Linked DNA regions of Homo sapiens: all the other regions are linked to region 3. The links are contacts of gene promoters, found by promoter capture Hi-C in human tissues and cell types (Jung and others, 2019). All regions are on one chromosome and are shown on one strand. Each heading gives the region's core, a stretch centred on a gene start or on the middle of the fragment in contact. The rest is flanking DNA. Distances are from core to core; before and after follow the strand shown. Region 1 has its middle 18 kb from the start of IER2. Region 2 overlaps NFIX (nuclear factor I X). Region 3 holds the start of SYCE2 (synaptonemal complex central element protein 2). Region 4 holds the start of LYL1 (LYL1 basic helix-loop-helix family member).

The links. Contacts are between HindIII fragments. The study calls those that stand out against the background at their distance.
Region 1: a contact is called between a fragment that was not itself captured here and the fragment with the promoter of SYCE2 in region 3, in 1 of the 25 tissues and cell types used here (pancreas).
Region 2: a contact is called between a fragment that was not itself captured here and the fragment with the promoter of SYCE2 in region 3, in 2 of the 25 tissues and cell types used here (IMR-90 fibroblasts and lymphoblastoid cells).
Region 4: a contact is called between the fragment with the promoter of LYL1 here and the fragment with the promoter of SYCE2 in region 3, in 1 of the 25 tissues and cell types used here (spleen).

The regions. Positions count from the first base shown.
Region 1 is chr19:13,166,767-13,170,329 of GRCh38, reverse strand. No RefSeq gene overlaps it. Among named protein-coding and RNA genes, the nearest start is that of IER2, 18 kb to the right of the region's middle. RefSeq lists enhancers at 1-207, 208-708, 2,401-3,028. The HindIII fragment of the contact is 8,994 bases long and covers 1-3,563 here.
Region 2 is chr19:13,064,195-13,067,989 of GRCh38, reverse strand. All of the region lies in intron 2 of NFIX (nuclear factor I X), which reads right to left. Among named protein-coding and RNA genes, the nearest start is that of LYL1, 37 kb to the left of the region's middle. The HindIII fragment of the contact is 5,516 bases long and covers 1-3,795 here.
Region 3 is chr19:12,917,978-12,922,120 of GRCh38, reverse strand. SYCE2 (synaptonemal complex central element protein 2) reads left to right here and starts at 2,828. Exons shown (of 6, transcript NM_001105578.2): 1 at 2,828-2,878; 2 at 3,784-3,899. The coding sequence starts at 2,864. MIR5695 (microRNA 5695) reads right to left here and starts at 1,801; the gene lies at 1,717-1,801. RefSeq lists an enhancer at 3,009-3,148. The HindIII fragment of the contact is 14,742 bases long and covers 1-4,143 here.
Region 4 is chr19:13,101,500-13,105,227 of GRCh38, reverse strand. LYL1 (LYL1 basic helix-loop-helix family member) reads left to right here and starts at 2,370. Exons shown (of 4, transcript NM_005583.5): 1 at 2,370-2,697. It overlaps TRMT1 (tRNA methyltransferase 1), which reads left to right. Exons shown (of 17, transcript NM_001136035.4): 17 at 147-321. The coding sequence ends at 293. LOC105372282 (a long non-coding RNA gene) reads right to left here and starts at 812. Exons shown (of 2, transcript XR_001753871.2): 1 at 584-812; 2 at 322-420. RefSeq lists enhancers at 628-687, 599-893, 828-907, cis regulatory regions at 317-897, 1,697-2,617 and a silencer at 1,988-2,597. The HindIII fragment of the contact is 28,419 bases long and covers 1-3,728 here.

The DNA.
Region 1 (3,563 bases), core at 886-3,385, 250 kb before region 3:
CAAGGGACCTGTCCAGTCTGGGGAGTGGCCAGGCCAGCAGGGAAGACAGCAGGAGCATCCCTCCTAGCTGAGCATTGTCCCCATCTTTTCAAAATTTACAGGTCAGCTGCCAGGGAGGGAGCCACCCAGAGCAGAGGATGGGCTCACTCGGGTTATCTGGGACAATCACAGGTAACCTCAGTCTGTCTGAGGCAGCCTGAGGGTGGGGCAGAGAATTTCCCAGGAGCCCTGTGGGGTGGGGTGTGCCTGGCTGTGTGGGACCCGCTGGGCCTGGACAAGGCAACTCTGAGAGTTAAGGAGACCGAGCTAGCCCGTCCAGTCTGACCAGAAACCCAGGCTCAAGGTTGGGATATGAGGCCATGGGGGTGGATCCTAGCTCCAGACTCCCAGCCTCAGGGACAGGGCTGGCTTAGTCATCGTGGAACCACTGGGAAGTTGAGGGATGTGTGTGCCTGCCCCACCCTCCACCCCAGGGATGTCCAGAGAGTCATGAGAAAGAGGGACAATGACCAGGCGTAGTAGCTCATCACAGTACTTTGGGAGGCAGAGGCAGGAGGCTCACTTGAAATCAGGAATTGGAGACCAGCCTCAGCAACATAGCAAGACCCCATATCTGCAAAAAAAATTAAAAAATTAGCCAGGCATGGTGATGTACACCTATAGTCCCAGCTACTTGGGAGGCTGAGGTGGGAAGATCACTTGAGCACAGGAGTTCAGGGCTGCAGTGAGCTATGATCATGCCACTACATTGCAACCTGGGTGACAGAGTGAGACCCTGTCTCTAAAAAAACAAACAAAAGAAAAAAGAAAAAGAAGAAAGGCCGGGCTCACGCCTGTAATCCCAGCATTTTCAGAGGCTGAGGCTAATGGATAACTTGAGGCCAGGAGTTTGAGATCAGCCTGGCCAACATGGTGAAACCCTGTCTCTACTAAAAATACAAAAATCGGCCAGGCATGGTGGCACATGCCTGTAGTCCCAGGTACTGGGGAGGCTGAGGCAGGAGAATTGCTTGAACCTGGGAGGTGGAGGTTGCAGTGAACTGAGATGGCACCACTATACGGCAGCCTGGGTGGAAAAAAAAAAAAAGTCAAGTAAAAGAAAGAGGCACAAGCCTGGGAGAAAGGAGGGGAACCAATGAGGATCCCAGGCATATGGAGATACAGCAGTGCCCACTCAGTGCTCAGAGAACAAAGGCCCTCCCATGAACACCCCCAATTACAAGTGGCCTCATCATAGCACTGCTGCCCTGCCCCTGCCAGAGCTGCAAAGCAAAGCAGAGAGAGGTTACATTATAGACATGTAACAAATGTTCTTATGTACGCCATACATATGCAAAAATAACTGATTTTCTTGAGACTGGGCCTTGCTTTGTTACCCAGGCTGGAGTGCAGTGACATGATCATAGCTCACTGCAGCCTCAAACTCCTGGGCTCAAGCCACCCTCCCGCCTCAGCCTCTAGAGTAGCTGGGACTACAGGTGTGCGCCACCACACCTGGCTAATTTTTTGCAGAGATGGGGGTGTGGTGGTCTTGCCATGTTGCATAGGTTGGTCTCGAACTCCTAGCCTCAAGTGATCATCCCACCTCAGCCACTCAAAGCTTTGGAATTACAGGCATCAGCCACTTTGCCTGGCTTAATTTTTTTTTTTTTTTCAGATGGAGTCTCAAAGTCTGGAGCAATGAAACCTCCTCCTCCCGGGTTCCTGATTATCCTGAGTCAGCCTCCTGAGTAGCTGGGGCTACAGGTGCATGCCACCACCACCAGCTAATTTTTGTATTTCTAGTAGAGTCAGGGTTTCACCATGTTGTCCAGGCTGGTCTCGAACTCCTGACCTCAAGTGATCCACCTGCCTCGACCTCCCAAAGTGTTGAGATTACAGGCGTGAGCCACTGCACCCTCTGAAACCCATGGTGAAACCCTGTCTCTACTAAAAATACAAAAAGTAGCCAGGTGTGGTGGCGCACGCCTGTCGTCCAGCTACTCGGGAGGCTGAGGCAGGAGAATCATTCGAACCTGGGAGGTGGAGGTTGTAGTGAGCTGAGATCACACCACTGCACTCCAGCCTGGGCGACAGAGTGAGACTCTGTCTCAAAAAAGAAAAAGAAAAAGAAAAAAAACCTCCCAGACTGAAGAGAAGGCTTTGGTAGATCCAGGGGCATGCACCCTCAGCTTCCCCCTCCAAACTGGCTTCATATCCAACCCTCATGGGAGGGAATTTCTGGTCCCAAACAGCATGACAGTACTTTGAAAATTCCAGTATCTGTTTATAAGGTAGTGTCCGCAGGGATTTGGAAAGTGTCTGGAGAACGCGTGGAAGGCAGCGCGCAGACTTTAGTGGCCTCCCCCAGCCAGCAGCACGAAGGGGTAAAAGGGTCCCAAGAGCCCCACCCCACCTACCGCCACCTCATCCTGAGTCTGAGAGCTGCAGCCCGCACAGACCAGGCAGTGAGTAATTGCAGGTTTGCTTCAAGCCTTCCGGGTCGTGAGAAACCAAAGTTTCACTCCGGAAGGGCGCGCCTCGGCAGCAGGGGAGAGAAGGAAGGGGGTTGGGGGTGGGGTGGTCTCAGGTGGAGGTTGGCAGCGAGCTGGCCTGGAGCCCAGGCTCCAGAGCTTACCAAGCCCCAGCTGCTGGGCCCCGGCCCCTCTGGCCTCTGACACGCCCCTGACTAGGCGGCCTCCCGACAGGCCCTCCCTGCCCCCCGGTCTAAAGGCTGAAGCAATGAGCCATTTCCTTTCCCGTGAACTCAGCCAGGGCCCCGCTGATTGCAGACACCACCAGCAAGGATGGGTACCAGGAAATGGCGGGGGCAGAGGGAGGAGATTGCAGCAGCCTCTCCAGTCTAGCAGTTTGATCATGCTCAGTAAATAATGTTTACAAAACAAGTAAATAAACAAGTGAGGGTGGGGCGCAGTGGCTCACGCCTGTAATCCCAGCACTTTGGGAGGCTGAGACAGGTGGATCACGAAGTCAGAAGTTCAAGATCAGCCTGGCCAAGATGGTGAAACCACATCTCTACTAAAAATACAAAAATTAGCCGGGCATGGTGGTGCACACCTGTAATCCCAGCTCCTCAGGAGGCTGAGGCAGAGAATTGCTTGAACCCGGGAGGCGGAGGTTGCAGTGAGCCGAGATCGCGCCTTGCACTCCAGCCTGGGTGACAGAACGAGACTCCATCTCAAAATAAATAAATTTAAATAAACAAGTGAACAACAGCAAACAAAAAACTTTGTCTTTACCCAGCCCCTGGACTGAGCGTGCACAGATTGACCCCTGGGGAAGTGTTCATCCTGCAGAAAGGGGAGAAGAGAGGAAAATGAAGTGAAGTGGCAAATGATTCTAAGAGGGAACCTGGTGAGTGATCAGCCCTGGATATGAGGAAAGAGAAAACAGGTAGCCCAGGAGTGGCAAGGAGACCTGGGGTGCGGCTCTCAGCTCCCAGAAGGAGCTGGTTCCTTATCTGAGAACCAGAGATAGAAGCTGGGTTTAAGCAAAAGTTCACCAACCAGGACAAAGGTCCTCACACTCTCCTCCTCCCCACCGAAAAGAAAAGAAAAGAAGAA
Region 2 (3,795 bases), core at 1,017-3,516, 150 kb before region 3:
GGAACTACAGGCACCTGTCACCAGGACCAGCTAATTTTTTGTATTTTTAGAAGAGACAGGGTTTCACAGTGTTAGCCAGGATGGTCTCGATCTCCTGACCTGGTGATCCGCCCGTCTCAGCCTCCCAAAGTGCTGGGATTACAGGCGTGAGCCACCGTGCCCGGATGCATGTTTTTAATATATATATATATATTTTCCACCTACAGATGGGGAGGTAGTTATGGCTCCCACTAGGGTGAGGGAGGAATTCCTGCTGGCTACAGCCAACACTGCCCTCAGCTCCTGCTCGAAACAAACTTGTACTGTGAAAGGGGCCATGTATAATTTGCTGGCCAATTGCCCCCACGGACTTTGGCCTAACAAGTTTTATGGAGGCTGAGGGGTGTGCACAGATTTGGCCTTAGCTGAACCCACATATGCATACCCAGGTATGTGCATACACTTGGATGCATACACTCATATGCTCAGACTCAGACACACACATACACACACACACACACACACACGCACACACACACACACACACGCGCGCACACACACGGAGGTGCCACTAACCACTTCTTGCCGTCCAGAAAGGGTGGAGTGAGATGGTACATCTGGAGCCACCAGAGAGGAATCCCCTTCAACTCTGCAGGAACCGCTGGCCTTTGGAAACGGGGAGAACAGCCCTTGGGGTGTGCCTGCCCATCCCCTGGCCCTCCCAGGCCTGACATTCCAGAAGCAAGTGGGGGTACATTCTGTTCTGGGGGTGCCTCTGGGCAGCTGCAACACCCCATCCTCTGAAGGGCTGATGCGATTCTGGGGCCAATCACTGGCCCTCCCAGCACTGCACCCGCCTCCTACTTCTCTCCCGCTTCCTCTGAGATTCTGGAGCGTCCAGGGCACAGGAAACCCAATCTCAAGGGGAGCCAGAGGCCCTGCCTGTAGCAATCAGAGCTGGAGAATGTAACTATTGTGCCTCCTGAAACTGAAGTCTGAGAATCTGAGACACCCTGAGGAGGGGAACGGTGGATAGATGGGGGGCTAAGGGGACGGGTCACAGAGGGGTTCTCCCCGTCTCAGCAGACAGGAGACTCAGGGGACCAAGGAAGTCCTTGAGAATGCAGGGCAGCCAGAGGGCCGGGGGATGAGGCTTGGCCAGGGTCTGGGCCCACGGGGCTTCTAGGATCTTCCTCTCCTTCTCTCCATTCCTCACCCTGCTCCACCAGCCACCATGCATGTGCACACACACATGTGCACAAACACACACACACATGCACACACACATCCTGGAGTCATCCTGAGGTGGCAGGTTTTTCCCTCCTCTGTCATCCCTAGAGTCTCACATGGTTTAAAGCCGGAGCCTGAACAAGAAGCAGAGCCCGCAAGCTGTGGGTGGGGGCAGGGATAAGGACAGGGGAACATGTCACCCCATTATCGTCCTCTCCCCTTTCCTCATTCCCTCCCTGCTCACAGATCCAAAGGGGCTTCTGCCTTTGACTTGACTGACCTGCTGGAGATGGGGGAAGAGGACATGGCAGAGGGGATAAGTGACAGGAAAGAGGAAGAAACCGAGTGACACCCACATGTGGTCTAGGCCTGCTCTGGCTGCCCCTAGGGCCTAGGCTCAAGAAAAGCCATTGTTGGGGGCGGGGGGGTAGGGAAGGCACAGGAACCTGGCAGATGAAGGGCCAGCATCTGGATGGGACATTCCCCTCTCCATCCCCTGACCCCAGGAAGAACTACTTTCTCCATTCCAACACATCCCGGCCTCTACGGGTGCCCCTGGAGCAAGTGCCAGGCCTGGCTACTACAGGACTCACAGCTCGGCAGTAAGGCTTCGGGAAGCGAGGAGAAAGCAAGTCCATCAGCTCATCTTGTACCCAGGAGACCAGCAGAGCAGTCTCACACTTCATCTGAAAGCCTCAGGCCCCACACGGTGTCGAGGTGAAGAAGGCCTGTCTCCTACAGTCCTTGGTTGCCTCCACTCCCCATGTGGAGATAGACTCATAGCCAGAAGCCTTCCAGCCACACAGCCCATCACTGCCTCCCTCATATAATGAGAAAGGTGTTCCTAAGCTTAAAATTTTCCTCCAGGAAAACAATAGAACTCCCACCTCCCTTCCATCCCCAGCAAGTGGCCCCGGAGCCCTCCAGGGAGTTCTTCTGGTGTGAGCTACTCAGCGTTCTCTGCTTGGCTCCCGTTCATTAGCAGCCGTCCCCAGCCCAGGGAGAACTCCTTTAGATGGGCCCAGGCATGGAGCGGCAGAAGAAGCCAGGAGGCACTGGGGAACTGAATGCTCAGTTGCTCTTCCCCAAGGGATGACAGGCAGTGGCCAGCAAAGGAGAGAGAGAAGGGATATGCCCCTGGTGCACAACAGAGCACCCAGCAGGTGGACAAAGGCCCACCTGCCAATGGCCACTCCAGGATCAGCCCAACAGTTAATAAATGAGACCCCCAGCCACAGCAGCAATGGGACATGCGAGTGGGCCTGCAGGCTCCTCCTGTGTCTGCCCATGGCAAGGTGACCCAGCACCAAACCTAGCACCTCAGATACCTGACTATGGAGGGAACAAGTGGACCCAGGGCATGGCAGCAGCACTGTCTGGGGTGTTTCAGAGATACCTGGGGTAGGAATTCCCATCAGAGCAGAAGAGATTGAAGATGACAGGCAAAGATCAGGCAAGGAAGAAGGCAAAGAAAAACATCTTGGGCAGGAGCCATTGGCCTGGGTCTGCTTCCCCTGTCCTCTGAGCCTGCCCTTGGCCTACCCAGGGAGGTGCCCTTGGTCTGGAGCCTGTGTCCACTGAGGGGGTACAACACAGTGCTCTACCACTGTGGATACCCTATCCTGGGTGAGCTGGCCTTGCCCCAGCACAGAGGGGCCGAAGGGGGCATGCTGAAATGGAGGGTAGGAGGAGGAAGGAGGTGGGTGGCCAGCAACGGCATACCAAGGCTCCCCCAATTCACATCCGTGCTCCAGAACCTACCAGCCTGTGACTTTGGTCAAGTTATGAACTGTTTCCTCATCTGTAAAAGGGAGATAACACCTACCATTAGCATTCCTGGGTAAGGAATAAATGAGAAAACATGTATAATAAGGTGCTTAGCTCAGGGCCTGGCTCATAGTTGGGGCTACATAAATGTCGCCTGTCCTTCCACCTGGATTACTATTTCCCTTCATCTCCATTTGCTGAATGCTTATTCCTCCTTCTCAACTCTGTTCAAATGCCACCTCCCACCCTGGTGGGGGAAGCTGTGGCTGACCCTCAGCTCCCCTCCCCAGGAGCTCACGCTCTTGAGTACATGGTGAGTGTGTCCTAGATTGCAGTTTTTGGTGTCTTGACCCAGGGACCACTGCCAGTGAACAGAGGGGCTCCCTTGGGGCCTGGCCCACTACCATCTACAAAGAGCAACAGAGAGGTTTCTCTGCAAATATAATGGCAGAGCCTGGGCAGACACCTGTACAGGCATATCCCTCCCCACATCGGTGTGCAATAGCCATCCAACGGTCTCAAGACAGTCACCATACTAGAAACAGGGGTGGGGGAGAGAGGGCCAACAGGGAAAAGGGAGGATAGAGCTTGTCCCCCTAGACTCTGGGAGTGCTAGGCCCAAGGCCTGCCCAGCCCAGCCCAGCCTTGGAATACAGAGAGCTGAGAAAACCAGGAGCACAGGCACAGGCCCATGGGCGTCCAGGCCAGGCGCCTCTCCTGGCAGTGCTGGCTGGTGCCACGATTCAGCCGGCAGCTGGAGCCAGCATTTCTGAGAGGGCCTGGGGCCAAGAGTCATGTGATGGTGGGGTCCAGGCAAGC
Region 3 (4,143 bases), core at 1,579-4,078:
ACTAAAAATAAAAAAATTAGGGCTGGGTGCGGTGGCTCATGCCTGTAATCCCAGCACTTTGGGAGGCTGAGGCGTGTGGATCATGAGGTCAAGAGATTGAGACCATCCTGGCCAACATGGTGAAACCCTGTCTACTAAAAATACAAAAAATTAGCCGGGCGTGGTGGCGGGTGCCTGTAGTCCCAGCTACTCAGGAGGCTGAGGCAGGAGAATGGTGTGAACCTGGGAGGCGGAGCTTGCAGTGAGCGGAGATCGCACCACTGCACTCCAGCCTGGGCAATAGAGCAAGACTCCGTCTCAAAAAAAAAAAAAAAAAAATTAGGCTGGGCGTGGTGGCTCACGCCTGTAATTCCAACACTTTGGGAAGCTGAGGCAGGCAGATCACTTGAGGTCAGGAGTTCGAGAGCAGCCTGGCCAACGTGGTGAAAACCCGTCTCTACTAAAAATACAAAAAAAAAGCTGGGCGTGGTGGTGAGCACCTGTAGTCCCAGCTACCCGGGAGGCTGAGGCACGAGAATCGTTTGAACCAGGAGGTGGAGGTTGCAGTGAGCCAAGATTGTGCCACTGCACTACAGCCTGGGTGACAGAAGAAGACTCTGTTCCAAAAAAAAAAACAAAAAACAAAAATTAGCAGGCATGATGGCAGGCACCTGTAGTCCCAGCTATCTGGGAGGCTGAGGTGGGAGAATCACTTGAACCCAGGAGGTGGAGGTTGTAGGGAGCTGAGATCACACCACTGCACTCCAGTCTGGGCCACAGAGTGAGACCTGTCCCCCAAAAACAGAAAACAAAAATTAGCTCAGCATAGTGGCTCATGCCTGTAATCCCAGGTACTCCAGAGACTGAGGTTGATCACTTGAGCCTGGGAGGTCGAGGCTGCAATGAGCCGTGATTACACCACTGCACTCCAGCCTGGGCAACAGAGTGAGACCCTGTCGTTAAATACATATTTATGTGTCTAAATAAACACAAGTACCCTGGAATCTTGCCATTTCCATCAAATCTGAACTTTGGCTGTGTAGGGGTGAAGAGAAAGCTTCCTTATTGCCCTCTGAAGTTTCACTAAAAATTACTGAGAAAAGGCAGATTAATAAGAGAAAAGGAATACGAATGTATTTGATCATAGTGTTACCTGACAAGCCTTCAGAATGAAGATCCAGAGATACAGGGGAAACTGTGTTTTTGTTTTGTTTTGTTTTGAGACGGAGTCTGGCTCTGTTCCCTGGGCTGGAGTGTAGGGGCGATCTTGGCTCACAGCAGCCTCAGCTTCCCAAGCAGCTGGGATTACAGGTGCCCGCCACCATGCCTGATTAATGAAAAGTGTCTTATGCTTAGGTTCAGCAAAGTTTGAACACCCAGGTAGAAATTTGATTGGACAAAAAGGGTTTGTCGTGGTTCATACTTGTAATCCTGACACTTTGGGAGGCTGAGGCGGGTGGATCACTTGAGGCCAGGAGTTTGAGACCAGCCTGAGCAACATGGAAAAACCCCATCTCTACTAAAAATACAAAAATTAGCTGGGCATGGTGCATCTGTAATCCCAGCTACTTGGTTGGCTGAGAATCGCTTGAACCTGGGAGGCCAAGGTTGCAGCGAGTTGAGATCTTGCCACTGCACTCCAGTGTTGCCTGGACAACAGAGCAAGACAAAAAAAAAAAAAAAAAAAAAAAGCCGGGGGGGTCGTCTAATACTAATAGGCTGAGTGGGGAAACCCAGCAAGGCCTATCTGTCTAGATTCTTCTTGGAGTCTCAGGAATGCATGCTCAGAGAGGCCAAGAAGAATCTAGATAGATAGGCCTTGTGTGGGGCAGAAACTTCTTTGAAACGGGGGTCTTATGACCTACAGTCAATAGGGTAGATCAGATAATTTCTTCTTTTTTTGAGACAGCACTTTGGGAGACCAAGACGGGAGGACGGCTTGAGCCCAGGAGTTGGGGATCAGCCTGGGCTCAGCACAGTGAGATCTCATTTCTACAGGAAAAAAAAATATAATTATGTGTGTGTGTGTGTGTGTGTGTGTGTGTATATATACATACAATCTTTTTTTTTTTTTTGAGACGGAGCTTTACTCTGTCACCCCGGCTGGAGTGCAGTGGCATGATCTCAGCTCACTGCAACCTCTGCGTCCTGGGTTTAAGCAATTCTCCTGCCCCAGCCTCCCGAGTAGCTGGGACTATAGGCGCCCGCCACCACGCCCGGCTATTTTTTGTATTTTTAGTAGAGACAGTTTCACCATGTTGGCTAGGCTGGTCTCGAACTCATGACCTCAGGTGATCCACCCGCCTCGGCCTCCCAAAGTGCTGGGATTACAGGCGTGAGCCACCGCGCCCGGCCAGAAAAATATTTTTAAATTAGAAGGGCCTGGTGAATGACACTGCTACTCAGGAGGCCGAGGCAGGAGGATCGCTTGAACCTGGGAGGTCGAGGCTACAGTGAGCTGTGATCGCACCACTGCACTCCAGCCTGGGCGACAGACCAAGATCTTGTCTCAAAAAAAAAAAAAAATTGTTATGGAGTATATTTTCCAAGGCAGAGTGGATGAAGTTAGAAGCACCGAATAAATACAGGACTCTGAGATCCGTATAACCTGGGCGCCCCGTGGAACCCAGGAGCCTCACAGGGGCACACAAGCGCACCCAGAGCGCGCCGTCCTGCTCCCAAGGGGCGCCGACTGCGCGCGCAGCCCGCGGACCGCGAAACTGCTGCTTAACGGTCGGCCCCGCCCAGTTGGCCGCGCAAGTTCTCAAAGAGGGCGGGGCCGGGAGCACGCGTCACAACACACTCGTCCGCGGGAGCGCAGCTGGCCAGGGGCGGGGTCGGCGCATGCGCAGAGGGTGCGAGCTTGAAGGCGGGAAAATACGGAATGGAGCGACAGGGAGTACGCGGCGCTTGTTTCCTTCTCGCGCGTGGGGCGGGCGGACAGATAGGCAGGGAACGGCTGCGATCCCAGCCATCTCCAGCGGACCCGAGCCCGGCCGCTTGTCCTTTGCCATTGGGGCTCCCTCTCATCAGGCCTGGCCTCAAATTTCCTGACTGACTGAACCCGGCCCTGACTGACGCACTGACGGGTCTGATTTCCACACATGGCGCGTGGCCGGAACGGAGTAGAGAAAGGCACAAACACCCACGCACCGCACCCGTTTCTTTCATTTCTTTTTTTTTTTTTTTTTGAGACGAAGTATCACTCTGTCGCCCAGTCTGGAGTGCAGTGGCGTGATCTCGGCTCACTGCAACCTCTGCCTCCCGGGTTCAAGTGATTCTCCTTCCTCAGCCTCCCGAGTAGCTGGGATTACAGGCACGCACCACCACGTCAGCTAATTTTTGTATTTTTAGTAGAGACGGGGTTTCACCATATTGCTCAGGCTGTTCTCGCACTCCTGACCTCGTGATCCGCCCGCCTCCGCCTCCCAAAGTGCTGGGATTACAGGCGTGAGCCACCGCGCCCGGCCTCATCTCTTTTCTCCTACCTCTTCTCCTTTCTCGAAGGACTCCAGCCAACACACATACCAGTTAGGAGCCCAGGTCCTCCAGTTACATTCCCACAGCCCTGCCCTCACCCGGCCCCTCTAGGTCTGGTGTCCTGGTGTCCCCTAGGGACAGAGTGTCCTTTCACCCCATGCCCCTGCCCTCATGGCACCTGCCCCAGCCCTGCCCGTCTTTCCTGCGGGTCCCCACCGTCCCGCAGCAGCACATCGAGGTGACCAGGGTTGAAGGGTCGGCAGGAGGGCGATCTGTTCACTCCTCATCCTCCCTCCTTGGCCTCCGTCCTGACTGTGCTTGCAGGTGGACGTGCCCCATGTGAAATGCAAAGACCAGGAACCGCAGCCCTTGGGGGAGAGCAAGGAGCATCCGCGGTGGGAAGAGAACTGCGAGGAGGAAGCTGGTGGAGGGCCAGCTAGGTGAGGAAGATCCCAGCCCTATGGGTCTACACAGGCCCCTGGGTCCCTCTCATTCACCCTTTTCTTCCACAAGGCTATGCCAGTGTCTGCTGCTTTTTTTTTCCCTCCTAACACAGCGTCTTGCTTTGTCACCACGCAGTGGCATGATCACGGCTCACTGCAACCTCCACCTCCCAGACTCAAGTGATCCTCCCACCTCAGCCTCCGAAATGGCTGGGACTAGAGGCGGGCCAGAATGTCGGGC
Region 4 (3,728 bases), core at 1,121-3,620, 180 kb before region 3:
GAGTCTCCCCTTTGGGCAACAGGGAGAGAATTGGGGGAGCTGGGGCCAGGCAAGTGTTTGGGAGTGGGCTTCCCATCCCAGGAAAGGATCCCATCAGGGGCTGCTGAGCTCCGGGCAGGGGTTCACACCCACCATCTTCCCACCAGGGCACCTGTCAACGCGGGGACCAGTGCTGCTACTCCCACAGCCCCCCGACACCCAGGGTTTCTGCTGATGCTGCCCCTGACTGTCCAGAGACCTCCAACCAGACCCCCCCTGGACCTGGGGCTGCCGCTGGGCCAGGCATAGACTGAACCAATAAAGAGATGTCACGTCACCTTCTCCCGATTGCCTGTGGTTTGTGTATTGGTCCATACAGCTGCATGACTGGGATCTGTTCCTCTGGGGATCGTTCGCCCCTGCCTGGCTGGAGTGTTGAGTCTGTATGGGAGGTAGGAGCTGACCATCTGCACAGTGGTCGGCCCCTCTGCAGCGAGGGTCACTGAGCCACCCCAGAGCCGGAGCCAGCGATTCCCGAAGCGGCCACGGGGCGGCAGCTGTGCGCTCGCTCCCGCGGGGGTTCTGCCCCTCTTCCCCCTCCCACCTTCAGCGCTCTCCAGGCCACGGGCTTGCGCATAGTGGGGCGCTCCTGCCCGGTAGCCCCCACGTGTCTTCGCGCCGCTGCCTCCTCGCCGCCTGGTTTCTTTGGCCCAGCTCTCCAGGGGCCACAGTGGCGGAAGCTGGACCGGAACCAGGCGCCCTGTGCATCCGCTCCAGACCAGGTGCTTCCTGCCCTGAGGCCCGGGGCGAGGGGGGCGTGCACACAAAGAGGGACCTCGCAGGCTGCTGCCCAGACACCCAGTGAGGGGGAGCTGTACCCCTCCCTGCCCTCCAGAGTGGGGTTTAGTAACGTTAACGAAGAGTCCTGGGGCAGGATCCCCTCTCTGGCTCCTGCTCCCTTCATCCCCATCTGTAATGAGGCTAATCTTAGGACCCTCCTTGTAGCGATATCAGAGTTAGCGCTTAATTTTTTTTTTTTTTTTTTTTTTTTTGAGGCAAGGTCTAGGTGTGTGGCCCAGGCTGGAGTGCAGTGGCGCAATATTGGCTCACTGCAGCCTCCACCTCCCAGGCTCACGCCATCCTCCCACCTCAGCCTCCAGAGTAGCAGGGACTACAGGCACGCACCACCACAACCAGCTAATTTTTGTATTTTTTGTAGAGATGGGGTTTTGCCATGTTTCCCAGGCTGGTCTCAAACTCATGAGCCCAAGCAATCCGCCAGCCTCAGCCTCCCAAAGTGCTGGGATGACAGGCATGAGCCACCAAGCCCGGCCTTTACTGCATAAAACTTTAGTTCCTGCTTCTTTGGAGGAAAGCAATGGAGGTGTTGATCGTGGGGTCCTGGGCTCCACCCCATTCCTGGGCGGGGGGGGGGGGGGGTTGGTAGTCCTGCTGCTGGGTGCCTGCCTGCCTGGGGGCTCTTGCAGTTGCCCAGATACACAGACGGGCCAAAGCATGAGTATCACAAGTGGGTGGCAGTCTGGTAGCTGCTGCTGCCTGGCTGTGCCCAGAGCCTCTCCCTGTGGGAGGCTCCAGTAGGGTCTTGAGGTTTACCACCAAGCCAGGATAACTGCCCCCCATGAAGGGGCCGGGTGCTGTGGGGTGAGGGCCATGGACCACCAAGTTGGAGTTATGTGATCCTGTAGCCAAGAGGCCTATAGTTGTGGGGACCTGTTGGGCATCTACTGGAAGGTCACACCAGCCCCAGCACCCTAGGAAATCCAACTTCCCCACCCCACCCCTGACAGCCATGGCTCTTCCTCTCACCCTCCTGGGCTTGGAAATGTGTGGATACTGTGCTGAGGGCTTGGGACACCTGCCCAGGCTGGACACCCAAGGCCAGACTGTTAGAACTGTTCCCCTTTGGGTGCCCCACTCCCGGGTAGGGGTGGTGGAGAGGAGGGAAGGGCCTCTGTAAAAAGAGGAACCAGGCTGGGTGAGGAGAGGAGGTGGGGGCCCAGGGTCACGCGGCCCCAACGGGCCGGAAAGGGCTCTCCCTCACCCCCATCAGCACAGACATTCGGGCAGGGAGTGTGCAAAGCCAAAGGGCAGACTCGGACATAAGAGGAGGCAGCTTCCCTGCCTCAGTTTACCCCCTGCGTGCATCCAGGCACCTCCCTCCCCGGCTGCCCTGGGGCCCGGGTCCCCAGAGGCCCGGGGTCCCTACAGTGGCTGGGGGAGCGGAAGGCGAAGCCCTGAGGGGTGGCGGACCGAGTCCTGCCAGCGCCGGCTGGGGGCGGGGCCGGGAGGCCCGCGCTGCTAGGTCCCCGCCCGCTGGTTTCCTCCGGGGTCAGCCAGGCTCCTTATCAGGCGCGGCCAGGCAGCCTGGCCCTTATCTGCACTGGGCCAGCATCCTCCGGCCGCTGCGCCGCCAGGGGTGAGAGGGAGGAAACCGGGCCGCCGGGGGCGGGGAGAAGGCGGGCCGGCCCGGGAGCCGCTCACTTTCCCTGGGGGGGACCTACGCGGAGACCTCGGCTATCCTGGCCTTCCGAGGCCCACGAGGAGGCGCGGCCCAACGCCGGGGCCTGGAGCATTGAGGCCGGACCCTCGCGAGACAGCAGAGCCTGGCCTGACGCTGGAAACCACACCCTGGCCCAGACTGCCAGCCCTGACGGGACAGAGCCAGGGCACTCACCAGGCTGCAAGAACAGTGCTGGGGTAAGAGGGGAGCGGGCCTAAAGGTGGAGGATCCCGGGCCTGGGACCCAGCCTGCATTCCTTTGTTCATTCCTTCATTCATTCATTCACCAGCAGGGACCCACTAGTGAGGGGCCAGGCCTGCTTCCCCAGGGCCTAGCTGAGGAAGACAGGGCAGAGGGGCCAACAGTCTCACACCTTGCTGGGACATCCTGGACTCTGGAACCAAGAGCAAACAGGGATGTCAAAACAGTATGCAAAACTGTGGATGATCGCGGGGCATTGTGGTGCATGCCTGTAATCCCAGCACTTTGGGAGGCTGAGGCAGGAGGATCACTTGAGCCCAGGAGTTCCAGACCACCCTGGACAACAGAGTGAGAACCTGCCTCTACAAAAAAAATTTTTTTTTTTAAATTAGCCGGGCATGGTGGCACATGCCTGTACTCTCAGCTACTCAGGAGGCTGAGACAGGAGGATGGCTCGAGCCCAGGAATTTGAGGCTGCAGTGCACTATGATTGCACCACTGCACTCCAGCCTGGACAACAGAGGGAGACCCTGTCTCTAAAAAAATAAACAAATTTTAAAAAGCGTGGATGCTGATGAGGATGGGGGCTTCCAAGCCAGAGGGAGGGTTGGGGCATGACTGGACTGGACTGGGCAGTGGGGTCAGTGTTTGGGGGTCTAGGGTCAGCATTTGAGGTCATAGTGTCAGTAGTGGGGTCACAGGGTTGCTATGGGGGATGTTTGCAGTGGGAGTGGGGGTCACTCAAGCAATTATGGAGCACTTTCAGGGACAGCAATGGGAAGAACCGCAGGGTCATTCTTGAGGTGCAGAGGGTCAGCCTGGGTGGGGGCTGGGGGCCTTCCGTGAAGGGTCAGAGTCCATCTTGGAGGGATTCCAAGCTCACATGGCATCAATGAGTTAATGAGGAGTCTCTGGGTTGGATCTTTAGATCTGAGGATAACAGGGTTAATCTTGGGGTTTCTGGGGATCCCAGGATCAGTTAGGGGCTCCCTGTCTTGTTCCCTCTCCAGGCTGCAGAGGTGAGGGA